4 separate regions of the Homo sapiens genome follow, and all the other regions are linked to region 3. Evidence: promoter capture Hi-C in 16 types of primary human blood cells and fetal thymus (Javierre and others, 2016). All regions are on one chromosome and are shown on one strand. Each heading gives the region's core, a stretch centred on a gene start or on the middle of the fragment in contact. The rest is flanking DNA. Distances are from core to core; before and after follow the strand shown.

Region 1 (2,700 bases), core at 183-2,682, 8.7 Mb after region 3:
AGTCCAGCTCCGGGCCAGCGGAAGGGGGCTCCAGTCCCCGATTCCCGCCCCTCGGTCCCGCAGGCCCCGGAAACCACTAGAGGGAGGGGAAGAGGGAGGGGCCATCTAACCAGGGACCGACCCACCCCCGGTCTCGGAAGAGGCGCCTCTGGGACTCCCCCGAGGGGAGGAGGCGGGGAGCGCAGCCGGCAGCGACGACCCCGGCCCCCTCCCCCAGCACCCCCCAGGGGCCCGAGAGGGCCGGGTCCCCGTGCCCGGGGCGTGACCGTCGCGAGGCGGCCACAGGGCCCCTCCCGCTTCCCGCCTGGGGCCCCGAGGGCCTGTCCCTTCAGGGGCGGAGAGAAGGGGGCGAGAAAAGGGGGCGCTGGCGAGCCAACCCGGAACCTCCCGGTCCGCCTCCCGCCCCCGGCCCCGGCCCCAGCGCGCCTCCTGCATACACGCCCGCACCCAGAAAGTTCAGTCAGGGGCGAGCCCGGCTCGGCGCCGCCGGGGCCCGGCCCCCGGCTCCCCGCCCCCACCACGGCCCGGCCTGCTCGGCCCCAGCGCGCCGCCCGCCCCGCCCGCCGCAGCTCCTTCCCGTCCGCCCGCGGTGCTCGGCGCCCCTCGCCCCCCACCCCCGGGGCTGACACGGGCCCGGGCCACCCGCCGGGCCGCGGCTCCCCTTCCCCGCCCCGCGCTGCAGCTCGCCGGCCGCCCCGACACCCCGCTTCACCTTCACACACCCCCAGCACTTCCCGAGTCCTGCCTCCCCTCGCCCGGCTCCCACTCTCCGCTGCAGCCGCTCCGCGCTTCCATTAAAGAATGCACCTTCCCAGGATTCACCTTCTCGGCTCTGCCGCGCTGCCCCCGAGGGGTTAGAGCCTCGGTCTCCGCCGACCCCGCACCGGGCTGGGCAATGGGCACTCGCTCCTCGGGGCGGGGGCCGCGCCCGCACCCCCGGCCGCGCCTCGGCGCTCACCTCTCGCCCGCGCCGCGGGCTGCAGCCTCCGCCCGCCTCGCGCTCCGGGACTCGTCTCCTGAGCTCTCGCAAGGCGCTGGAGCGCCTCCTTTCTCTCCCGGGGACTCCGCGTCTCCCCGTCGCTTCCCGCCCTCCCCACCCCCAAGCCCCAACTCCCCAGCGTCGCTGCGCCTCCGGGATGCAACTCCCGTTTTCCGCGCACTCCGGCGGCGGTCCCCGCACACAAAAACAGCCTCTCGGAGGCGCACGGCTCTGTCGGAGCTCGGCGCAGGAAGGGCAGTCGCGGCCGGGGGTGGGGACGCGGCGCCCCCCGCCTGCCGCCCGCCCCCCGCCCGCCCTCGCGGCCCCGGGGGAAGGCGCGGTTACCGGCTCGGGTCGGTCACGCCGTCAGGTGCCGGCTGCCGTCGGCGCTGACCTTCGCCGCCGAAGCTGTAGCCGAGGCTGCGGCCGCCATGTTCCCGTGTTAATAACTGCTGCCTGGTTGTTTATTTCAATGGAGATCCTCCCCCAACTCCCTCCTCCTCCTCCTCCTCCTCCTCCTCCTCCGCGTCTCCGCACTTGCGGAGAGACAGACAGCGCGAGCTCGCGAGCAGGGGAGGGGGCTCGGGAGCCAGGCCGTCCCTCCCTCTGCCTCCCCGGCAGTGGCCGCCGCCAAGTCCTGTCACCGGGAAAAGGACGGGGCGGAAACTTGCCTCTCGCGCCCCCGAGGAAGGGGCAAAGGTGGACGCAGGGTTGTCCGGGGAGCAGCCCCTGGCCGCGGGGTCCGCAGCATCTCCGTCGGCAGAGTCCTCTGAGAAGGCGGCCCGGGGAGAGGTGAAGAAGAGTAAGGGGACAGGGGACAAAATGGGTGACTGTGGTAGAGGGAGGGTGACCTAGAGGTGACTGGAACTGAAGAGAGAGTCAACAGAGGACTGCATGGGAGGGCAAAGGGCAATGCCAAAAAGAAAACTAGCGACTGGGACGGGCCTGGGCCGCTGAGTTAGAGGCAGTGGGGCCTGGGGGCTGCAGACGGCAGGGACGGTGCCCCAGGACGAAGATCGGGGAGAGCCGAGTTCCAGGGTCGCCAGCAGAGGACCCTCGCGCCCGTCCGGCCGGACCCTTCGGCCAGCACCCTGCACCCCCTCGGGCGCACCTCACCCTACCCAACTCCCGGTCCTGCCGCTGCTCCCCGGAGGCGCCCCGCATCCGTCAAGTCCCCTACGGCTCCAACAGGGAGAGGCTTCTCCCATTGCAGTCCTAGCTCCAGAGGGGATGGAGAGGCGCGACTGTGGGAGCTGGAAGGGGCACCACCCGGCAATTGCGGGATAAAGCAAATGCTGCACACAGAGTGTGAAACTTAACCTGGTTGAGAATTTTCGGCACATCATGAAATCATAAGTTTGTATTGGAAAGTCCATTCTCTAGACATCCGTGAACAAAGTACTGAGGGGACGTAGGAGATTGGCACTGAAAATGCGAGAACCCCCATTTAAGTGTTACTTAGACCAATCTGTTTTACGCTTTGGAAAAGCAAGTTTTTTTTCCAACTTATACGGTAATTAGTTGAAAAAAAAAACTTTTGTTTAATGGCAGTTATCAAACTATGAGAGGAACATATTCCCTGATTTTAATCTTATAATGAGAAAGGTCACTTGCGGTAGACAATAAGAGTGTTTATTGAACACTTACTGTGAATCTGACTGTGCTAGGTGATGTATATATGCTATAGGCCTTAATCCTCAAACCTTCCGAAGTCATTGCCG
Region 2 (2,700 bases), core at 31-2,530, 5.9 Mb before region 3:
TGTAACCGTGCAGCACTCTTACCTTCTTGAACCAACAAAATCAGCCTATCTCCGACCTCAAAGTAGGGCAGCAGTAAGGAGGTGGGAATAAACATTTGAAAATGAATATTTCCACTAACTAGTAAATGTGGCCAAAATACTATTGAAAATACCATTCAAAATGCATGAATTTTAGCTCAGTTTTTATATAGTTCTGAAGAAGTACCAATACTATTTTGGCATTTCGTAGCACCAACCACGTCCGAAGCGCTCCAACTTTCAAGTCTGAGCTTGTCTCTGAAGAAGTTGCCCGTGCAGCCTCCATGAATACCACACACCAAATACTAACTGCTTTTTAACAGATCCAGCAACGCTGCTGTTTCCATTTTCTCCATCCTATTTATGCCCACATGAACTTTTTTCTTATTAGATAATTAGTAACTTGAAGGCAGAGACCTGTTTTACAGGCTGCAAACCCCAGGGACCGAGACAGCACTTAACGCCTACAAGGTCCAAACCGACGCCAACGATTAAGCGCACAAAGGAAAGGTGTAATATACATCATTTCGTTTAGTCCTCCCTGCAGCCTCATGTAGTAGTTACTATTAATCAACCCCATTTCACAGGTGATCAAAGGTAAGCTCAGAAAGGTGAAGTTGCCTGCCCAGGTCACAAGGTAGGACCAGGATTCCAAGCCTGATCGGTCTGGATACGAACGCTCTACCCACGCGGCTTTCCCCCTACACTCTCGGGATCACCACACACTTCCCCTTGGCTTTTACACCGGAGGCTCGACCTGGGTCCCGGAACCAGCGAAGCCACTGGGCAAGCCTAGAGGCCTCTACAGAGGCTAGAGACGCCTCGCCCCACCAGATGCATTAGGATGAAACGCGCCGAACCGAAGGTTTAGAGCGCCAGGGGAGAAGAGGGGCGGGGAGAGCAGGCTCTTTGACCCAGAGGAGGGAGGATCTCCACACCCGGCCACTCTGGCGCTGGGGCGCAACACTGAGGCCGGCGGGAAGCCGAGCCTGCCCGCGAAGAGACTGGGGATTCCGAGGCGGCTCCTGGGAGACCGGACGCGCGCGGCCTCCGCCGCTCCCAGTCCCGCCAGACCCGATGCCGGGCTGGAGAAGCGCGGGGGCCGACGCACCTCGGATAGGCGGGGGCAGGGGCAGGGGCAGCTCTCCTTTACCCTAGAGCGGCGACAGAAGCTCTTCGGGGGATCAGTGGCCAAGGGGGCGGACAGATTTGCACGGCGGATTCCTCCGAAGCAACCCGTGTGAAAGAAGCCAAGCGGCGGCTGCAGCCCGGGCCGCGATGGGGGTGACACCGCCCGTGGTCCCGCCCCTTCCCGTGGCCCCTCGGAGCCACTTCCGGCGGCAGCGTCCGGGCTAGTTCCCGGCGCGAGCGGCCGCGGGCCAGTTTCTATCTCCTCATCCAGGGCTTGCGGGCGAGGCCTGTTTTAAGTCTCCAGTAACCGAGCGGAGGCCCGGCAGGCGCGACCCGGGCTGCGTACGTCAGAGCTGCCTCCGAAGTGGTAAAATGTGCTGCGAGAAGTGGAGCCGCGTGGCGGAAATGTTTCTCTTCATTGAGGAGCGGGAGGATTGTAAGATACTGTGCCTTTGCTCCAGGGCATTTGTGGAGTAAGTAGAAAAGAGAATCTCTTCATGTTCTAGCACAGTCATTACCCAGAAATGTAGGTATTGCAAACGTGGTTGTAATTGATCCCTGAAAGCAGCCAGAACATCTGACCCTTGGGCACGGTGATGTTTAAGAAAAACAAAACCCTCAGACATGACGGAGTGGTCGCCCACTGCCATTATTTTTATGTGAAGGACTACATCTACTTGGTAGGCTGCTATGAAAAAATGTCGTAGGTGCTATATGTCATCTCATATTTGTAAATCGAGGGGACATTTAAAAATTGGGGGAAAGCGACATGTAAAATGAAATCTCTAGTAGATATGATGTCATAAAGTGAAAGTTTAAAGTTGAGTGACTTGCTTTGGTTAACGTCTTTTTTTAAACCTAAAAATCTACTTAAGCCCAAATGCACATAATTAAAACTTCAAACTAGTTGAGATAAAAGACTTAACCATATTTACATCAGTTTTTGTGATATCTTTATTTTGGGGAAATCTTTGAATCAGGTAAAAATTGCCCCACATGAAAAATAGCTAGTATGCAGGAATAATACCGCCAAGAGACTTGAATTCTAGGAATTGTTTCCTTTATATTAAATGCGTGAGTTAAACCACTTGAACCTTTTTTTCATCTCTATAACGGGTATATTTAATCTCACATGCTTATTTTGTTAGAGTTAAATCCTTGTGGAAGTGAATTTTATGTGATAGACTTTTAATATAGTTTAATATAGTAGGATTTAAGTTTGAAGGAATTCATTTTTCTCGTGTAATTTTGTGGAGTAATTTGAAAACGCAAAAAGAAGTTAAACTTGTTAAATTTAATGTAAAAAGTATTGTCGCCTTTTTAGTCAGGCATGCATGTAGTCATACAATCATTCAGAAAATGTTTTTTGTGCTCTTGTATATCAAGTATGCTGGTAGGCACTGAGGTACAAGACATTCTGTCCTTACATGTATTGAGTTTACTTCCTAGCAGAGAAGATCAATATTAAGATAACTGGTTACATTATTACTTGGTTGATTATAGTTATAAGTGCTATGAGAGAGAAGTGCAGGATGCTGTGAAAACAAATAA
Region 3 (2,700 bases), core at 126-2,625:
CATTCATTCACTACTCAAATATTTATTGAGCACCTATTATGGGAAAGGAACATTCTAGGAGCTGGGGATACAGAGAGAATGAGCCAAAGACAACACACATGAAAGTAATAAGACAAGTTCAGATAGTGACAAGTGCTATAAAGAAAATACTTCTTTGACTATAGCTGATTCATTTTCTTGGTATATTATGAATGCATGATCTGAAGATCTCAGAAAACAAAGAGTCTAAATCACTTCAAGTGAAGTTTACAGCTCACATTCCATACACATGTGTATTGCAGTTTCAATATCCCAAATATGAGTCAAAGGAAGTATAAAAGAAACCAAGAATCACTGAAATATGAGACGAAACAGATTTAAAAATCTGTTCTCTCTGCTGGATATGCACACGGACGAGGAGAAAGGTGAATATCCAATCGATTTTTATTTTAAGTAAAAGTGGTAAAAATACAGACGCTCGTTCAGTATTTCATGACATTCTATTTTAAAGGCAACTGCAACGCATATTAAGAAAGCTACATACAAGCAAAAATATTTAAAATAATTTCTGAGAGCATTCAAATCACTCCCAACTTCTTCCCTCCCCCTGCCCCCCGGCGCCCCCATTTTCACCTCCTTTGAGTTGCTCTGAAACGCTGCTGGTTAGGCAGGAACTCACTTTCCCTGACTTTGGCTCATTTTCAACTCCCCAAAACACGCAAGGCAAACGATAAATTGTTCTCTTACTCCCATGTTCAATTCCACGGAAAGCCAAGAAACAGTCGTTCAGCAACCTCTGTCTCGGCTGCGCCCTGCAGGTGAAGGAACCGCTGGGAAGGGGCTCCCCGAGACTAGCATCCCGAGGGCTCGGACCCCGGTCCGCCTGGCCCCTCGCCCGCCCGCCAGGCCCGCCGAATGCGGCCTCCGCCCCGCGCGCCTAAAGGAGGAGCGTCGCGGGGGATGGAGGCGGCGCGCGGTGGGACCTGGGGAGATGCACCCGCAGCGTCCGCCGCGCCAGCCGGCTCCCTACCCCGAGGCGAGGCCCCAGATCCCCGCCCCGCAGGGCCTCTGACCTCTCCGGGCCCCGGGGCTGCTGCTGCCCGCACTCGTGCTACCGCTGCCGGAGCCGCTGCTGCTGCTGTTGCCGCTGCTCTTGGCATTCTTACGCTGGGCCATTGCACGGTCCGCGGGGGCTGGTGAGGGCTGGCGGACCTCCTTCAGTGCGCGGGGGTACACACGCGACGCGGGAACCGCTGGCGGCGGCGGGCCGCTGGAGCGGGTTCGGGCCGCTGCTCCTGCAGCAGACCCTGTGCCTCAGCACCGCCTGCAGCACCTGGGAAGACTTCACCCGCCTGCCGGCTGCGCGCGCCCGGCCTCGCGTGTACGAACCTGTGACTCCCTCCCGGGGCGAGAGCGCGCGGCTCGCCGCCCGACGGCCACGCCCCTTCCCGGCCTCGCCCCGCCCCCGGAAGGCTGAGTGACGGCGCCTGGGACCCAATCGCAAGGGCCCTTACGAGGCGGCGGTACCCTGCCGCGCTCCCCGCCCCTGCTCACTTAGGGCTGTTCGGGCGCTACGCAGCTGCCTGTGAGCGCGAGCCTCTTTCGGCTTTCCAGTTTGTCTCGGTCCTTTGGAACGTGGCAAACGTGGAAGCCGAGAGGGCTCTCGCGAGCGTTGGCAGACCCCGCTCCATAGGGATGGGACAGGGCGCGGTGCGGAATAGGTGGACACGTGGGCCGCCCGTGGGCGGAGTGCGCCGCTTCTAGGCCTTTCACTGTGGATTTTGTCCCCTTTCCGTATACAAGGAAAGGAAGGAGTGCAGTCTCGCTTCTTGCGAAAGAGATCCCTATTTCTTGTCCTGATTAATACTAAGACATTTCTGGAATGGTGATATTAGGACTAGTTCAATGCTTAAACCGTAGTAGTTCATCCATTTGGTGCTGAAGCAGGAATTTAGTTCGTTTGTGCCATCAGTATTTTCAGATACTCTTAGTTAAGGAATGAAAATGCAAATGTGACACAAAAAGTTCATTTTCTTACCCTGGATGGCACCCTCTGTCTGAAATCCCTGGCTGCTTTGCTAACGCCTGGGCCTGTGCTGCCTGAGAATTCCCAACAGAGTATTAAAATGTCTTGGCACGTGGTTGAACCAGACAAGGACTTGAGATCAGCGACGTCTTTATCATCTTTGTGTCACCATTGCTAACACCATGCCCAATGTGTAACAGGCAAGCAAGAAATGCTTAGTGATTTGATACATTTCTGTCAATTGCTGAACCCACAGCTCTTGATCATGTTTCGTAGCAACCCCTGGGAGTGTCTCAGGAGGGCTCAGGGACCAGAGAGAGCAGTTGCATTGTGGCATCTGGTTTCATTCCTCTTTTCCAGCCCCACAAACCCACCCACCCGCGCCTTCAGAAGCACTCCCGCCTCCCCCCGGCCCCATGCCTTTTCACCTGTGGATGGTTGGATGCTGCTTGACCCTGCCCTGATGATGCACAGAAACCCCCCAAAGGTCATGTTGCAGAATAAAGAGAATGCCTTTCTTTACCTTTTGTCAAATAGTGTTAGGCTATTATCAAGAGACGGTGGGAGGGGAGAGTTCACAGAGTTTTTATTGAAGTAGCTCTCTCAGCTTTTATCTTGTGGCATCTCCTTCTGCATCCATATATCCTTTCTCCCATTCAGGGCCCCCTTACAACCCTCTATTATATTATCTCAAT
Region 4 (2,700 bases), core at 172-2,671, 5.6 Mb before region 3:
TTGACTTAAGCATCTGCAATGGTGACTTCCACCTCAACTCCTGGCTCAATACTGATGGAAGTAATCTGCTTAACAATCTCAGAAGGACTGTGCAAGTCAATGAGTCGCTTGTGAATTCTCATCTGGAAACGATCCCACGTCTTAGAACCTTCACCACAAGGAGTTTTTCTTGTAGTGATTCTCAAAGTCTGTAACAAAAGACAAAGGAAACCAAGTGTTTATCGTTTTATACTTATCCCTAGAACATCTGGAAAATCATTACTTCTAATCATTTCATTAGTTTCCCTTTGGTATGATTCCAATTTACACTAATAGATTTTCAGGTACCATGGGTTGAAAATGCCAGGTCTGTTTTCACTGTGCTAGGACACCACCCTTAGAGCTTGCGCCTGTTAAGCACCAAAGCACACCAAGAACACAGCAACAATAATTCAACAATCATATCTAAACATTAGCTACTTACTAGGAACCGCAATCTACCACCGATTTCTATGTGCGTTTGTAGACAGCATCAGTGTTAACAATTTTGGCAGCCGAACTCCTTAAAGAACCTGAATTTATGCAACATCCGGAAGCAACTCCTACTTCCTGCCCCTCCGATTTACTTTACCTTGGTAGGCATTCGAACTGGTCCTTTCACTTTGAGATTCTTTTCTTTTGCGCCTCTTATCAAGTCAGCACACACTACAGGAAATAAAAGACCTCTCAGTATAATCGAAACAATTAAAATCGGCTTAAGGCCTTCACTTCTGCTGGCTCAGAATAGCGTATAAAATTATCACCGTTACTCAACACAATAGGTACCTCCTCATCGCCAGCTGTATGACAGTAAAAGCAATTTTAAGCCACGCTTTACTTTTTTAAGTAACTTGTCACTTTAGTTCTTGCAGTCCACCTTCTACACTAACATTAACGAGTAAAGCTCGTCGCTTTTCGCCCAATTCCCCCTCCCCCCCGCATAACGAATGCACTGACCCTTTTCCAAGGATTTTACGTTGCGGCTTGTTAGGGTGATTCGAATTCGGTGAATTGCCACCTCCGGCTCCACGGGTGTTTTTCCGGTATCCTTAAAAGCCTATTATTAGATACATGAAAAAGAACAATAAGCCAAAAATGGTCTGCCACTTCTGGAGAAAGGCAGCTTCCGGAAGCTTCCCGCGTTTCCCCACCATTTCAGGAGCGCCTTTCCGCCCCTACACGCCCCGGCATCTGCCCTCAGGAGCACGAACTCGAAACCGGGGTCCCCCCGGCGCCCGAGCCCTGCGTTGCGCCGCCCGCCGCCGACTGCCGCCTCACCATGGCTGTTGCGCGCGGGCTTCCTGACCGACTTGTTCCTCGGCGAGAGCGAACAGCGGTGAGTCAGGAGCAGGAGCGTGCGGACCAAAAATCCTCAGCCCTTACGACCGCGTCTTCCTCAAAAAGAAAGGGGTGGGACTTGAGCAACGCTTATATAGCACGCTTGCATCCGGGTCCCACACGCCCCGGAACAGGAAATATCCCGGGCCCTAGAGGCGGTCGCACAAGGGCGAGCTGGAGCACTAGTGGAGTTGGCGGGAAAGGCACGGCTGCGGGCGCCCCCTGTCCGCACGGAGGAGCCGAAGTCCCGCAGGGTGGGGTCCCCGCCTGCGCCGAGAGGGCCACCTGGTCGAGAGAACAGGCGACACGGAAACCTGAGAAACTCCTCTGTCTGGTGCACCTAACCCTCTTCCTCATAAAGTGCACACGAACTCTGGTTTTTCCGTTGCAAATTTTGCTTTCTACATAGACCATACCATTCGTTGCTCTCTGAGGATGAGGTAACTTCTCTGAGCTTAGCTGACATGAGCATTGGCAGAAATGCTTCTCGTAATCTGGATAACTTACGTTAGAATTAGTAAGCAGTTATTTTTCATAGCCTGAAACGTCCTGTTGTGATATTTCAGCTCCTGGCTTCCCAGTCCAGCAGAAGTATCTACATCTATTTCTGGAAAGGACCTGAACTTGGCTTCTCGTCCTTCTGGAAAGTGAGGCGAAAATGCCAGGCTGCGCAGCTATCCTGAGGCCCGGCCTGGAACCTGGCTAGCCACCCAGTCCTGATACCTCATCTCCTTTCTGTTGGATAAAGTCATTGGATAAGATCCCCCAGGGTCTTCTTAATACTGAACATCTGTTCATAATCACATAAGTGACCAAGTATAGTGGAAAACCCGAATGGTCAACTGAGCTGAGCAGTGGGAGAGAGCGCAGGGTGAGCTCACCTACACCTGAGCAAGAAGCCGGGGCTAAATACGTGGAAATCACTGAGATGGATTTTGATACAGGGCAGAAAGAAGAGTAAAATCATCTCATATTACTTTCCACCTGAAGCTCTGAGCCGAAAGAGTTATTTGCTCAAACACTCTGAAATGGGGAGGGACAGAGCTCTGACCCCTCCGTCCAGGCCTGTTTGTTGTTTTTTTTTTTTGTTTGTTTTGTTTTTTTTTTTTTGTGAGACGGAGTTTCATTCTTGTTGCCCAGGCTGGAGTGCCATGGCGCGATCTCGGCTCACCGCAAACTCCGCCTCCTGGGTTCAAGCGATTCTCCTGCCTCAGCCTCCGGAGTAGCTGGGATTACAGGCATGCGCCACCATGCCCGGCTAATTTTTTTTTTTTTTTTTTTTTTTTTAGTAGAGACGGGGTTTCTCCATGTTGATCATGCTGGTCTCAAACTCCAGATCTCAGG

The links. The method cuts DNA at HindIII sites, captures the fragments that hold promoters and counts their contacts. A CHiCAGO score of 5 or more calls a contact.
Region 1: the fragment with the promoter of NCOA2 here is called in contact with the fragment with the promoter of ASPH in region 3 in 3 of 17 cell types (activated CD4 T cells, non-activated CD4 T cells and fetal thymus); the score reaches 9.6 in activated CD4 T cells.
Region 2: the fragment with the promoter of TMEM68 here is called in contact with the fragment with the promoter of ASPH in region 3 in 1 of 17 cell types (total CD4 T cells); the score reaches 12.8 in total CD4 T cells.
Region 4: the fragment with the promoter of RPS20 here is called in contact with the fragment with the promoter of ASPH in region 3 in 3 of 17 cell types (naive CD8 T cells, naive CD4 T cells and activated CD4 T cells); the score reaches 7.1 in naive CD8 T cells.

What each region holds. Positions count from the first base shown.
Region 1 is chr8:70,402,376-70,405,075 of GRCh38, forward strand. It overlaps NCOA2 (nuclear receptor coactivator 2), which reads right to left and starts at 1,433. Exons shown (of 23, transcript NM_006540.4): 1 at 1,325-1,433. RefSeq lists silencers at 30-689, 720-1,009, 1,050-1,359, 2,050-2,209 and an enhancer at 1,830-1,949. The HindIII fragment of the contact is 4,231 bases long and covers 1-2,700 here.
Region 2 is chr8:55,772,098-55,774,797 of GRCh38, forward strand. It overlaps TMEM68 (transmembrane protein 68), which reads right to left and starts at 1,281. Exons shown (of 8, transcript NM_001286657.2): 1 at 1,172-1,281. It overlaps TGS1 (trimethylguanosine synthase 1), which reads left to right and starts at 1,349. Exons shown (of 13, transcript NM_024831.8): 1 at 1,349-1,622. The coding sequence starts at 1,522. RefSeq lists enhancers at 183-686, 1,458-1,787 and silencers at 908-1,037, 1,128-1,317. The HindIII fragment of the contact is 10,724 bases long and covers 1-2,700 here.
Region 3 is chr8:61,713,217-61,715,916 of GRCh38, forward strand. ASPH (aspartate beta-hydroxylase) reads right to left here and starts at 1,376. Exons shown (of 25, transcript NM_004318.4): 1 at 1,053-1,376. The coding sequence starts at 1,155. It overlaps MIR4470 (microRNA 4470), which reads left to right and starts at 1,572; the gene lies at 1,572-1,643. RefSeq lists silencers at 746-1,175, 1,216-1,585. The HindIII fragment of the contact is 6,840 bases long and covers 1-2,700 here.
Region 4 is chr8:56,073,085-56,075,784 of GRCh38, forward strand. It overlaps RPS20 (ribosomal protein S20), which reads right to left and starts at 1,422. Exons shown (of 4, transcript NM_001023.4): 1 at 1,297-1,422; 2 at 976-1,075; 3 at 611-684; 4 at 1-188. The coding sequence starts at 1,299. The coding sequence ends at 6. It overlaps SNORD54 (small nucleolar RNA, C/D box 54), which reads right to left and starts at 817; the gene lies at 755-817. It overlaps CERNA3 (competing endogenous lncRNA 3 for miR-645), which reads left to right and starts at 1,508. Exons shown (of 2, transcript NR_149110.1): 1 at 1,508-1,796; 2 at 1,923-2,190. The HindIII fragment of the contact is 15,741 bases long and covers 1,150-2,700 here.